2 separate regions of the Homo sapiens genome follow, and region 1 is linked to region 2. Evidence: promoter capture Hi-C in 16 types of primary human blood cells and fetal thymus (Javierre and others, 2016). All regions are on one chromosome and are shown on one strand. Each heading gives the region's core, a stretch centred on a gene start or on the middle of the fragment in contact. The rest is flanking DNA. Distances are from core to core; before and after follow the strand shown.

What was found. The method cuts DNA at HindIII sites, captures the fragments that hold promoters and counts their contacts. A CHiCAGO score of 5 or more calls a contact.
Region 1: a contact is called between a fragment that was not itself captured here and the fragment with the promoter of LPCAT2 in region 2, in 5 of 17 cell types (monocytes, M2 macrophages, M1 macrophages and 2 more). The highest score is 15.5, in monocytes.

What each region holds. Positions count from the first base shown.
Region 1 is chr16:55,838,726-55,844,025 of GRCh38, reverse strand. No RefSeq gene overlaps it. Among named protein-coding and RNA genes, the nearest start is that of CES1, 8.3 kb to the right of the region's middle. The HindIII fragment of the contact is 6,371 bases long and covers 1-4,564 here.
Region 2 is chr16:55,506,415-55,511,588 of GRCh38, reverse strand. LPCAT2 (lysophosphatidylcholine acyltransferase 2) reads right to left here and starts at 2,517. Exons shown (of 14, transcript NM_017839.5): 1 at 2,237-2,517. The coding sequence starts at 2,407. It overlaps MMP2 (matrix metallopeptidase 2), which reads right to left. Exons shown (of 13, transcript NM_004530.6): 13 at 4,898-5,174. The HindIII fragment of the contact is 4,685 bases long and covers 1,669-5,174 here.

The DNA of each region.
Region 1 (5,300 bases), core at 130-2,629, 330 kb before region 2:
GCCAGCATCCTCAAATGTGTTTCTAATTTTGGTAGATATCTTGCTAGGGGGAGCACATTTCTAAGTTATCCAGATATAGGGCCCTCTTTCCTTCTCTTTCTGTCCACATGCAATCAGATGCTTTGTGGAGTTAAAGTTGACATTTATTTAAATGCCACTTTGTGTCTGTTTTTTTCCCCTTTAATTTAGAGTTTTCTATCTGGAATGTAAGTAAAATAATCACTTGGAGGGTTTTTCTAAAATACCAATGGCCAGGCCACTAGCCAGTCAATCGGAAGCAAAATCTCCTTGGATGGGACCTAGAAGTATTTTCAGTTTTCTGGCATTTTAATGAACACCCCGATTAAGAACCACTGGGTCTTAAGAGTGTGGCATATGTATTTTTCAAGTTCCTAGAGGCTCTCCAAAACAACAAAAAAATCTGCTTTATTTTCTGCCTGGTGTTGACGTGTCACAGTTTCTTTAGCCACTAGTCTTATCCTGGATATTTATGGTCATAATTTGATGAGCAACATTGGGAATGACTTCTTTTTTTTTGTTTTGTTTTGAGACAGAGTCTCACTCTTTCACCCAGGCTGGAGTGTAGTGGCGCGATCTCTGCCCACTGCAACCTCCACCCCAGTATTTTTACTTTTAAATATTATTTATGGCATCTAGATTTGCATAAGATGGACTGGGTCAACGGCCATGCCCTTTATAAGTCAATATTTTTGAGTTCTACAAATTCACTTTCCTAAAGCGCCAAATCACATCCTACTCACCAGCAAGACAGGTACACATCATTTTCACAATCACTTCTAATTTTCCACCATTGTAAAAAAAATAAAATATTTAACCACTTTCTTATTGTAAAATAAACAATTTACTTTTCCAGGACCCACTGCCTCCCCCTCCCCACTCTCCCCTTTTTTTTAAACAATCTTGAACCCTATCCATTAAATTAAATCAAAGCAAAACTTTAGGGACAAACTACGTCGGTCTTCACCTGTGAATTTCCTGATGTCCAGTAGAGGGCAGCATTATCACAAAGGAAAAACGCTTCCCTCTATTCTGAGGCTCCTGAGATGCTGGTGGTGTGACATCGCAGAACTTGGACTGACAATAAGACCATGCCAAATAGTTAAATTATATACAAGCCAATACAATATAGTGTTATCCATTCCATCTGTAACATTTGGAAAGAGGAAAAGGCAGAATCCACTCCCTGAAAAGTCTGACTGAAAAGACTAAACTCACTAGCAGAACAGAGGTTGGAGCCAGCAGTTTTTCCCTTTTCCACCTCCTGGACTTTCCCATTAAGTCTCCAGGAGCCTACCTCAGAGGGACATAAGGGATTTCCTCTCCTTGGACCAACTCAGTCCAGATTCCCCCAGGGCAGAGCTGCAGGGGAGGGTGGGAAGCGGGCTCAGGCCCTGCACCTGGGTAGCTGCCCCACCTGGTGCTGCCCCAGGTAGCGCATCTACAAGATGAGCCTCCCTTCCCCCAGCAGGGACAGATCCCACTCAGTCCTGCCCCGTATGCTCTGCTAAAAGTTCGTATTGAGAGTGTGCCTCATTATTCCCAAGGACGGGAAGGGCTGGGGAGAAAAAAACCTACCTTGCCGCTTGATTGTCTCAAAATACAAGGAAATTCATTGCAAAGAGCTCGCTGTGCTCCATGAATGGGGTGGAGCTCAAGTCTGAAATTAAAGGATGGGTAGGAAGGGGGATGGCCAGCCACAGCATGGCGGAAGTGTGACCCTGAGCAGTGGTGGCAAGGGGGCCAGCCCACGGGCAGCAGGGCTGGTGTTGGCAAGGTTGCTGGAGCACACTGTGGGTGCCTGGAGGACAGCTTTTCTACCTTGACCTTTAGGAAACAGACTTCTCTCTTTATCGGAAGATAATGCCATAAAATATCTATCTATCTATCTGTCTGTCTGTCTGTCTGTCTGTCTGTCTGTCTGTCTATCTACCTATCTACCTACCTACCTATTATCTATCATCTATCAATTATCTATGATCTATCTATTATCTATCTAATCTATTTATTTCATTTATTACATTTATTTATGTAATTGTGTTTCAAGCTCTATTCACCTCCTGAACTTTTCATATGAGAGAACAGAACTCTGGCTGATACCTTCGGTATTTTTAGAAGGATTGGTACACTTTGATTGTTATTTATCACTATATAAGTCCTCCATTAGTTTCACTGCATGCAACAATTGAGTTATAGAAGCACATTTCTGAAAATAAGTTATTCAATGGGAAAAATGGACTGTTGATGGCCAATTAGTAATATGAAGGCAAGGACAAACTTGTCCACCATCATGAGAGCTTGTTTGGTGGCCAGGCATTGACTTCATCAAGAGTCATCATTACTGCAGCCATTACATGAGCTTTGGGAAACTTCTTCCTTTTGACACTCAGATCTCTGGACAGAAATCATCTTATGTTGACATCTGGCAAGGCCCTTCCGATATTCTGTTGTAATTAGGTGGTTGGAGTTCCTGGGGTCAGCCCAGTTCTAGGAGTGGCAGAGGCAAAGAGCCTCCAGGAAACTTTGGCCTTGGGGTGGAGCTCAAAGGGGAGAGGTGCACTCCCCATGGGCATAAATGGGGGTTACCTACACCCCAACTTCTACAGGCATCCAATACCCCTAAACCCAGAGAGTCTTTTCTGTCTCTATTCTGATTGCATAGGTGCATGGTGGTGTCTTTCTTTCCAGGAGTTAACGTCTCCTTTTTCTGTTCTAAAACTAGTTATCGTCATTCTGTTGGCCTCTCAGTGTCCAAAATGCTGTCATTTCTTCTTTCACAGTTTGTCAGTGTGGGTTTGTAGCTTTAAAAACTTTATTTCACTGTTTTTTTTTAGGATAATTGGAGGGGGGAAATAAAAAATTTTGGATCCCTCTTCTTTCACAGGAAGTGGTAAACCGTTTTTCCTTTACACAAACATTTAAAAACAATTTTTTCTACCTTTCTGACAGCTACATTGCATCCCATAGTATAATACTCAATAAATTATTTAACTGTCTACTATTGTTAGCCATTCGAATGATTTCCTATTTTGTACCATTGTCAACTTCACTGAGGTGACCACCTGATACATATATCTTTGGGCTCATTCAGAATTATTCCTAGAGAATAGTGCTTTAAAATAAAGGTTTTATCATTATTTAGGTATGGCAGGCCCACCAATCAGATGTCAGCCATTGAAAAAGCAATTTGGGCTGGGCATGCTGGCCCACATCTATAATCCCAGCACTTTGGGAGGCCAAGGTGGATGGATTACCTGAGGTCAGGAGTTCGAGACCAGCCTGACCAACATGGTGAAACCCTGTCTCTACTAAAAATACCAAAAAAAAAAAAAAATAGCTGGTGGTGGGTGCCTATAATCCCAGCTACTCGGGAGCCTGAGGAAGGAGAATCACTTGAACCTGGGAGACAGAGGTTGCAGTGAGCCAAGATTGTGCCATTGCACTCCAGGCTGGGCAACAGAGCGAGACTCTGTCTCAAAAAAAAAAAAAAAAAAAAAAAAAGAGAAGAAAGAAAGAAAGAAAAGAAAGAAAGAAAGGATAAGTAGCTTGTTACTCACAGATCCCAAGACAAGACGAGGGGGCACTCCATGCCATGGGAGCAGGAGGCTGCACAGACAACGCTGGAGTCCATCAGAAGGTGGTGGTGATGGGGATGTGGCAAAAGGTGTTCCTGTGGTTTCCCCGGGAAGGAAGAGGTGAGGCAGGGTGAGCAGGTTTAGGAGTGGTTAGTTTGAACAATTTCAGGGGGCTCTGCAGCATTGGGGCTGTTCCATCTGGTACCTAGCTCTGGGGTGATTAGGGTGCGAGGCTATTAGTTCACAGTGGGAGAGCCCATGAAGGAGGTGGTTGGGGATGTGGGCTCTGGATCGGTGAGTTTATGTATGAAAGGCACACTAAGAGACAAGTGGCTTATATCTCTAGCAATTGGCTAACCATGGGAGGAGCAGTCCCTCTAGGAGCAAAGCCCTGCATGTCAAAGTGTCAGAATGGAGAAAATAAAGAACATGGTTAATAAAAAATAGCTGGGGCAAAAGGGATGCCTTTTTGAAATGTTAGGATAGATTTTGCCAAATTGCCCCCAAGGAAGTTTGAACTAAATGATCTCTCACATCAGTGGTGAAAGTTCCTTGTTTTCTATATTGTTGCCACTAGGCACTACCGCCAAAAGAATTGTGGTAAAACTCCTTGCAAATTCAATAAGTGCCATTTGGGTATCTGGTTTGAATTTGCGTGTCTTGGTGTGTGTGCTATTCATCTGGGAAAATGGTATTTTGTGGATGTGAAGACCCCTTGGAACCTGATTGGTGGGATGGAGGGGGATTGTGGACTGTACCCACCCCGATGTGGTCCTGGCCTCCATAGAAGTACAGCTATGTGGGAAGTTTCAGAGGACTGCAACCTTCCCATCTCAGCTGTGACCCAGCCCACGAAGGATTCTAGAGATTTTGTCCCTTGCATGACCTTCTAAAGTGAGAACACAGGGCCAACAGCAGTAGATCCTGAGATTTGGTCAGACCTTTGTGCAGTCCAGCTTTTTGGAGAAGCTTATGTCATTTATGCTTGCTGAGTCCTATGTAAGCCCCAAAGCCAAGCTTTCACAAGCTAGGACTTAGGCACCTTTGAAAAGGAGAAGTTTATCTTCCACCTTCCCGAAGAGTGTGTAGGAGGTTCCCCTTGAGAGTAACCACTGGTCCCTCCAGATGGCTTGGCTGCTTCTGCCAGGCTCTACTTTCAGAAACGCCCTTCATTGTGCAATTCTCAGAATTAAAGCCTTTCAGTGTCTCTTCATTGTCCAGGGATGAAGTCTGTTGTCCTTGGCTTGGCATTGAAGCTCTCTGTCCTCCATTCACCCTTCCATTGCAACTGGCCTCCCCAAGAAGCCCCTGAATCTGCCTTGTTCCAATGCTAATTTCTTCTCTGCCTCCCCAAATTTTGTCCATCTCTCAATACCCGCTACCATCAAGAGTCATCACAGTTATGGGCATTAACATATATGAATATTGATAGTTCTCAGGGCAAGAAAACACACAGAACATGCCTCTCCATGGAGGCCACTCTATTCACCTGGATGTTTATAATGTAATCTATAGTTTGACTTTACAGGGCTCTTTCCAGATTATAATTCAATCTTCACTTTTCTGTGTCTAAATTTTTACATTGCTTTCTGAATCATCTTTTTTCCCATTTTATTCTTAACAGGCTAAAGGAAGGCTTAATAAAGTAGAGCTAATGAATAGGATCTGGGTTTATAATCAGGCTTTTGTGATTTGAATCAAAGAAAT
Region 2 (5,174 bases), core at 1,268-3,767:
CTGGTTTTCCTTCATTACACTTACTAAAACATGAGATTATATATTTTTGTACTTGTTTGTTTAACTATCTTAGTGAAATGTGAGGACAACAGTCCTTAAGCAAGACATTGATCATCATTTAAGATTAAACTTAGTCTAAATTAATCATACTAAGTCATACTTAAATGAAAGTGTGTCCACCTTTTAAACTGGATAATATGGACATTGTTTTTCTACCATGCCTATTCAAATCTTCCCTTTACCCAGATGATTCAAGCCACTGAAACCTCTTGTATCTCTGATCTATATAAATTTAAAAAGTATTTTTAATATCCAGACTTTGTTAAATCCCATTTAATCCAAGTAGTAAATTTTAAGTACAGTATATACTTTGTAGAAAATATATAGGATAACTATCAATATTATCAATATTAAGATCAACAAACAATAACAGATTATTTCACTTAATTGTAGCCCTCCTTTGAGTTATTAATATTCCAATGTAATAGACGAGAAAAGTATAGTTCAGAGAGGTTAAGTGACTTGGCCAAAGTCATACAACTAATAAATGACCAGTTCCTATAACTGACTAGCTATCATTCCATTATACTATAACTCTCAGAGAGTTATTTGGAAGAGATCTTTAAACAGTAACAAACCAGGTGATGGAAAAACTTAATAATTTATTATAGGTGCAATATAAATATTTGTCAACATTCCATGCTGTTTCTTTCCAAAATATGAAGTCAAATAGATGGGCATATTTTCATTTAAGTATGATTTAATTAAATCAGACTAAATTTAATCTTGAACAATGGTCTATGTATTTACAAATGTTTCAGAATGTGAAGACACAAAAAGAATATCTATTAATTTAAAGACATGAGGATCACATTTTTAAACGTTTAATTTCCTCACAAAGCAGTATTACTACATTCTTTATCTTCTTCCTCTCTCACACCCCTCTTCAACCAGACACCCATCTACCATTACTCAAGCCACCACCTGTGTTGTTTAGCTCTGCACTTAACCTTCCCCCACTGTAGAGGACAATGGTCTTAGTGCATACAAGCTGATTGCAAATATTATACTGCTTCAAATCCAAAGTAATGTGTGAGATGGACATGAAAACTTCAAAATTGTTCCCCCACCCCCCCAACCCCCGCAGAACACACGGACAAATGTGGTTAGCAGGGTCTATCTTGTTCTCTGATCACTAACTTCAACAAAGAGGAAGTCCAAAGAGTGCAACTGCCAATGGTAAAAGGAACCCTTTACAAGAAAAAGGAAAGGAAAGGAAACTTCCTTTGTGCATAACAGTATAGCCATTTTTAACAATGGAAAACAGCCTGGGCTACTACTTCTCATGCTTCAACTTAGGAAACGTTTTTAGGTGAAGACTGATTCTGGACCAAAACTTCTTGAACATCCTAAGCTGACTCAGTTGTCCCTTTTCTTTGATTCTGACTTCCCACCCTCCATCATGCTCCTGCTCAGCTAAATCTTTCCAGCCTTACCTGTTGTTCTAACCACAGACCTAGGCTCTCTGCCTTCTGCCTCACTCTTATCCATCCCATACTGACTCCTCTCCTTCCTAAGGCAAAAAAAAAAAAAAAAAGACTTCTTCAAATCTACTCTCCCGTAGTAGATCTGCCTCCCACTACACTCTCATAAACTCAAGTTGAAGCTTCTGTCACAGATTCACAGATTCCTTCAACCTTCTGGGGCATGGAATGTAGCCTGCGCCACCAGCCAGCTCAGTCTCTTCCTGTTTTGGATTCTCCTCTCAGGCCCGCATCTTCCCAGCATCTTCTCTCCTCCCGTGCCCGCTCAGACCATCCTCTAAATGTCCTCAATTCTCAGACACACATCTCCGCCCCTTTCAGGCTCACGGCCCCTCAGAAGTCCTCTCCTCTCAGATCCACTGCTCTTTCTTCCTCTGATGCCTTTGCTTCCCAGACCCACAACGCCCCTCAGACCCACGCGCCCCTCGACCGCCCTCCCCCGTCAGACCTACACCAGTCACCTGGACCCGCCCCAGACCCTGGCTCCCCTCGGGCCACCTCCCTCCTCAGACCCATGCCCCCTTCAGGCCACCTCCCTCCTCAGACTCTCGCCCGCCTCGGACCACCTCACTCCCTCAGACCCACGCCCCCCTCGGCCGCCCTCCTCTCTCAGACCCACACCCCTTACCTGGACCCCCCTCTGACCTAGGCCCCCCTCAGACCACCTCTCCCCTCAGACCCACGCCCCTCACCTGGACCCGCCTCGCGGAGCCGATCTGCGTCTGCTGCACGAAGGGGTTCGGCACCGGCGGCGGGAAGAAGGACGCCTGACGGGGCACCATGGGCGGCCGCAGCCCCACGTTCCCGACGCCGGCACCTGGCACTGTGGCCGCCACTTCCGCCGCCTGGGCGCACCGGCTCATAGTTGAGCCGGGCGTAGAACCCGGCCGAAGCGATCTACGCGGGCGCTGCAGCCAAAACTGAGCCGAAGACCTACTAGAGTCCCAGCCTAGGGCGACGCTGGGGAGCCTCTGCGCAGGCGCTGAAGTTACTTAGACGCCTGCTGCTGCCGCCCTGCCCCTTCGGCTGTGACACGCCCCAGGCTCTGGCCACACCCCCTCAGGCATCTGGCTCCACCCCCTTGGTAATATAGTCCATCCCCTCGGAGGGGAATGTTTTCCTTCCGAGCCAAGACCCTGAAGGGTACCCCAGGATCCCTAACATTCCACAGCGAGACACTAGGCAGAGTTCCCTGCTTTAGGGTCGGACGGACCTGGATTTTCAATCCCTTTTACTGGGCCTGTGACGCTGGCCAAATCACTATCTCTATGAACCTCGGTTGCCTTCCGTAAAATGCAGATAAATGTATTCTCAGATAATCCTAACCTGGATCCAGTAATGCCATTGAGCAACCACTTCCCCTGGGCTGTTCCATTAAGTGAGCTAATATTAATACACCCATGATGGCACTAGGAGTGGAATTTGTTTCACTCAAAACATAATGGACTGACAGGGGAGAGATGGTTCTCCAGAGGAAAACTGAGCTACTATTACCAGAAAAGGCAAAAATTACAGTTGCCCTCCACGCTAGATGAGGAACCTGACCCAGAAAAGGGAAATGTATTGGGCTGTGGCTCCCTTTCACACTGAGGAAGTTCAAGCCTGTTTGGACCTATGTGGGTGCTCGTGGGGGTGGGAGGGCAGGGGTTTGTCCCATTATCTGAGGACAGTTGATCAACCCTGAGTGGCTGAGAGTTAAAGGAAGGAGATGATAATCAACTCATCCCAACTGATCAACTCTTCTCACAGCAGGTAGGAAGGCCAGGATGAAAATCTGAGTCTGAGCCCTGGGGTTCTCCAAAGTTACCCTCTGAATGTCAGAATCTTCCAGCCCTACCACATAGATGTGTGGCCTTGAGTCAGTCACTTAACCTGAGTTTGCTTCCTTGTCTAGGAATGGGAGATTCATTCTAACTCCATAGAATTGTAGCAAGGATTAAATAAAATAATGCATGTGTAGTGTTCATAGAGAAACACTGAAGAAATGGCATGTTTTAAGCATTATTATGTTGTGGAGCCACTGACTTTTCTCTCAGTGTAACAGGGAACATTAATAACAGTGCATTACAGCCATGATAGAAGATTCCCCAGTCTAGGGGGTCTTCAAGTTGGGACTGGCAGACCCTTGAGACTCTTTAGCCAGATACCTGCACAGAAAGATGTCTTTCCAACTGTCAACAACCTAAGCCAGGCCAGGTGCAGTGGCTCACGCCTGTAATCCTAGCACTTTGGGGGCTGAGGAGGGTGGATCCCTTGAGCCCAGGAGTTCGAGACCAGCCTGGGCAACAAAGAGAGACTCCACCATCTCTAAAAAAAATTAAAAATTAGCTGGCTGTGCTGTTGCATGCCTGCAGTCCCAGCTACTCAGGAGGCTGAAGTGGGAGGATTGCTTGAGCCCAGAAGATCAAGTCTGCAGTGAGCTATGATCATGCCATTGCACTCCAGCCTGGGTGACAGAGAAAGACACTGTCTCAAAAAAGAAAAAAAAAGAAGAAGAAGAAACAAAAAGAATCTGAGTCAAGGGGACAGGCCATGGGAGGATAAAAGATAGAAAAGATGGGGCCGAGAGTGGTGGCTCACACCAATAATCCTAGCACTTTGGGAGGCCGAGATGGGTGGATTGCCTGATCTCAGGAGTTCGAGACCAGCCTGGGCAACACGGTGATACCTGTCTCTACCAAAATACAAAACAAATTAGCTGGGTATGGTGGCGTGCACCTGTAATCCCAGCTACTTGGGAGGCTGAGGCAGGAGAATCACTTAAACCTGGGAGGCAGAGGTTACAGTGAGCCGAGATTGCGCCATTGCACTCCAGCCTGGGTGACAGAGTGAGACTCCATCTCAAAAACAGAAAAAAGAGATAGAAACAATGACATCAGGCTCACTGAGGAGGTCACCTGTAGAGTTCACTCCTTACGCACCTTCCTCACCAGCCCCATCATAAGAGGCCAGAAGCAATATATATACTATCAATCAGACTATCGGAGCCAGAAAGGGCCTCAGAAAAACCCCAGGCCTTCAATTTCTGTTCAGCAGTAGCTCCAGAATTTCTATGTAGGAGATTAGGAGTGGGTAGACTGGTAGGAAGGAGTAAGGAGCTTATCCATTAATACCAGCTGTGTTTAGAAGCAAGCACAGTATTTCTCCCTTAGCTGTGTTTACCCAGCGTGGTTTTGGGGGTGGTGGAGGGTAGCAGGAGCGGTTTTGAAGGTGGTGGGGGTGTTTTTGAGGGTGGCGGAGGGTGGTGAGATTCTGGTTTGAGAGCTAAAGCTCCTCTGCTAGGCTATCCTTTGGCCTTGTAGGTCCCTAATAGCTATGGGACCCTGGAAAAATCACTTCTCTTGAGCCATCAGTCTCTTCATCAATAAGATTCAACTAATAATGGCCTTTTTTATTTATGTGGTTGGAAAGGTTAAAATAGGTGACACGTGAAAAGTGCCTTGCACATAGAAAGCACTCTATTAATTGAGGGGGATATTATTGTTACTGTTCATTGTTAGTAGTAGCATTAAAACTGATATGATTGCTAATGAAGAAACAGACTTAAAGAGGAAGCAAACCTCGAACAGATGCCACAATAAAGCAACAAAATTGCTGATTCTTCAGGGCTCTTTCTACAGGACAGAGGGA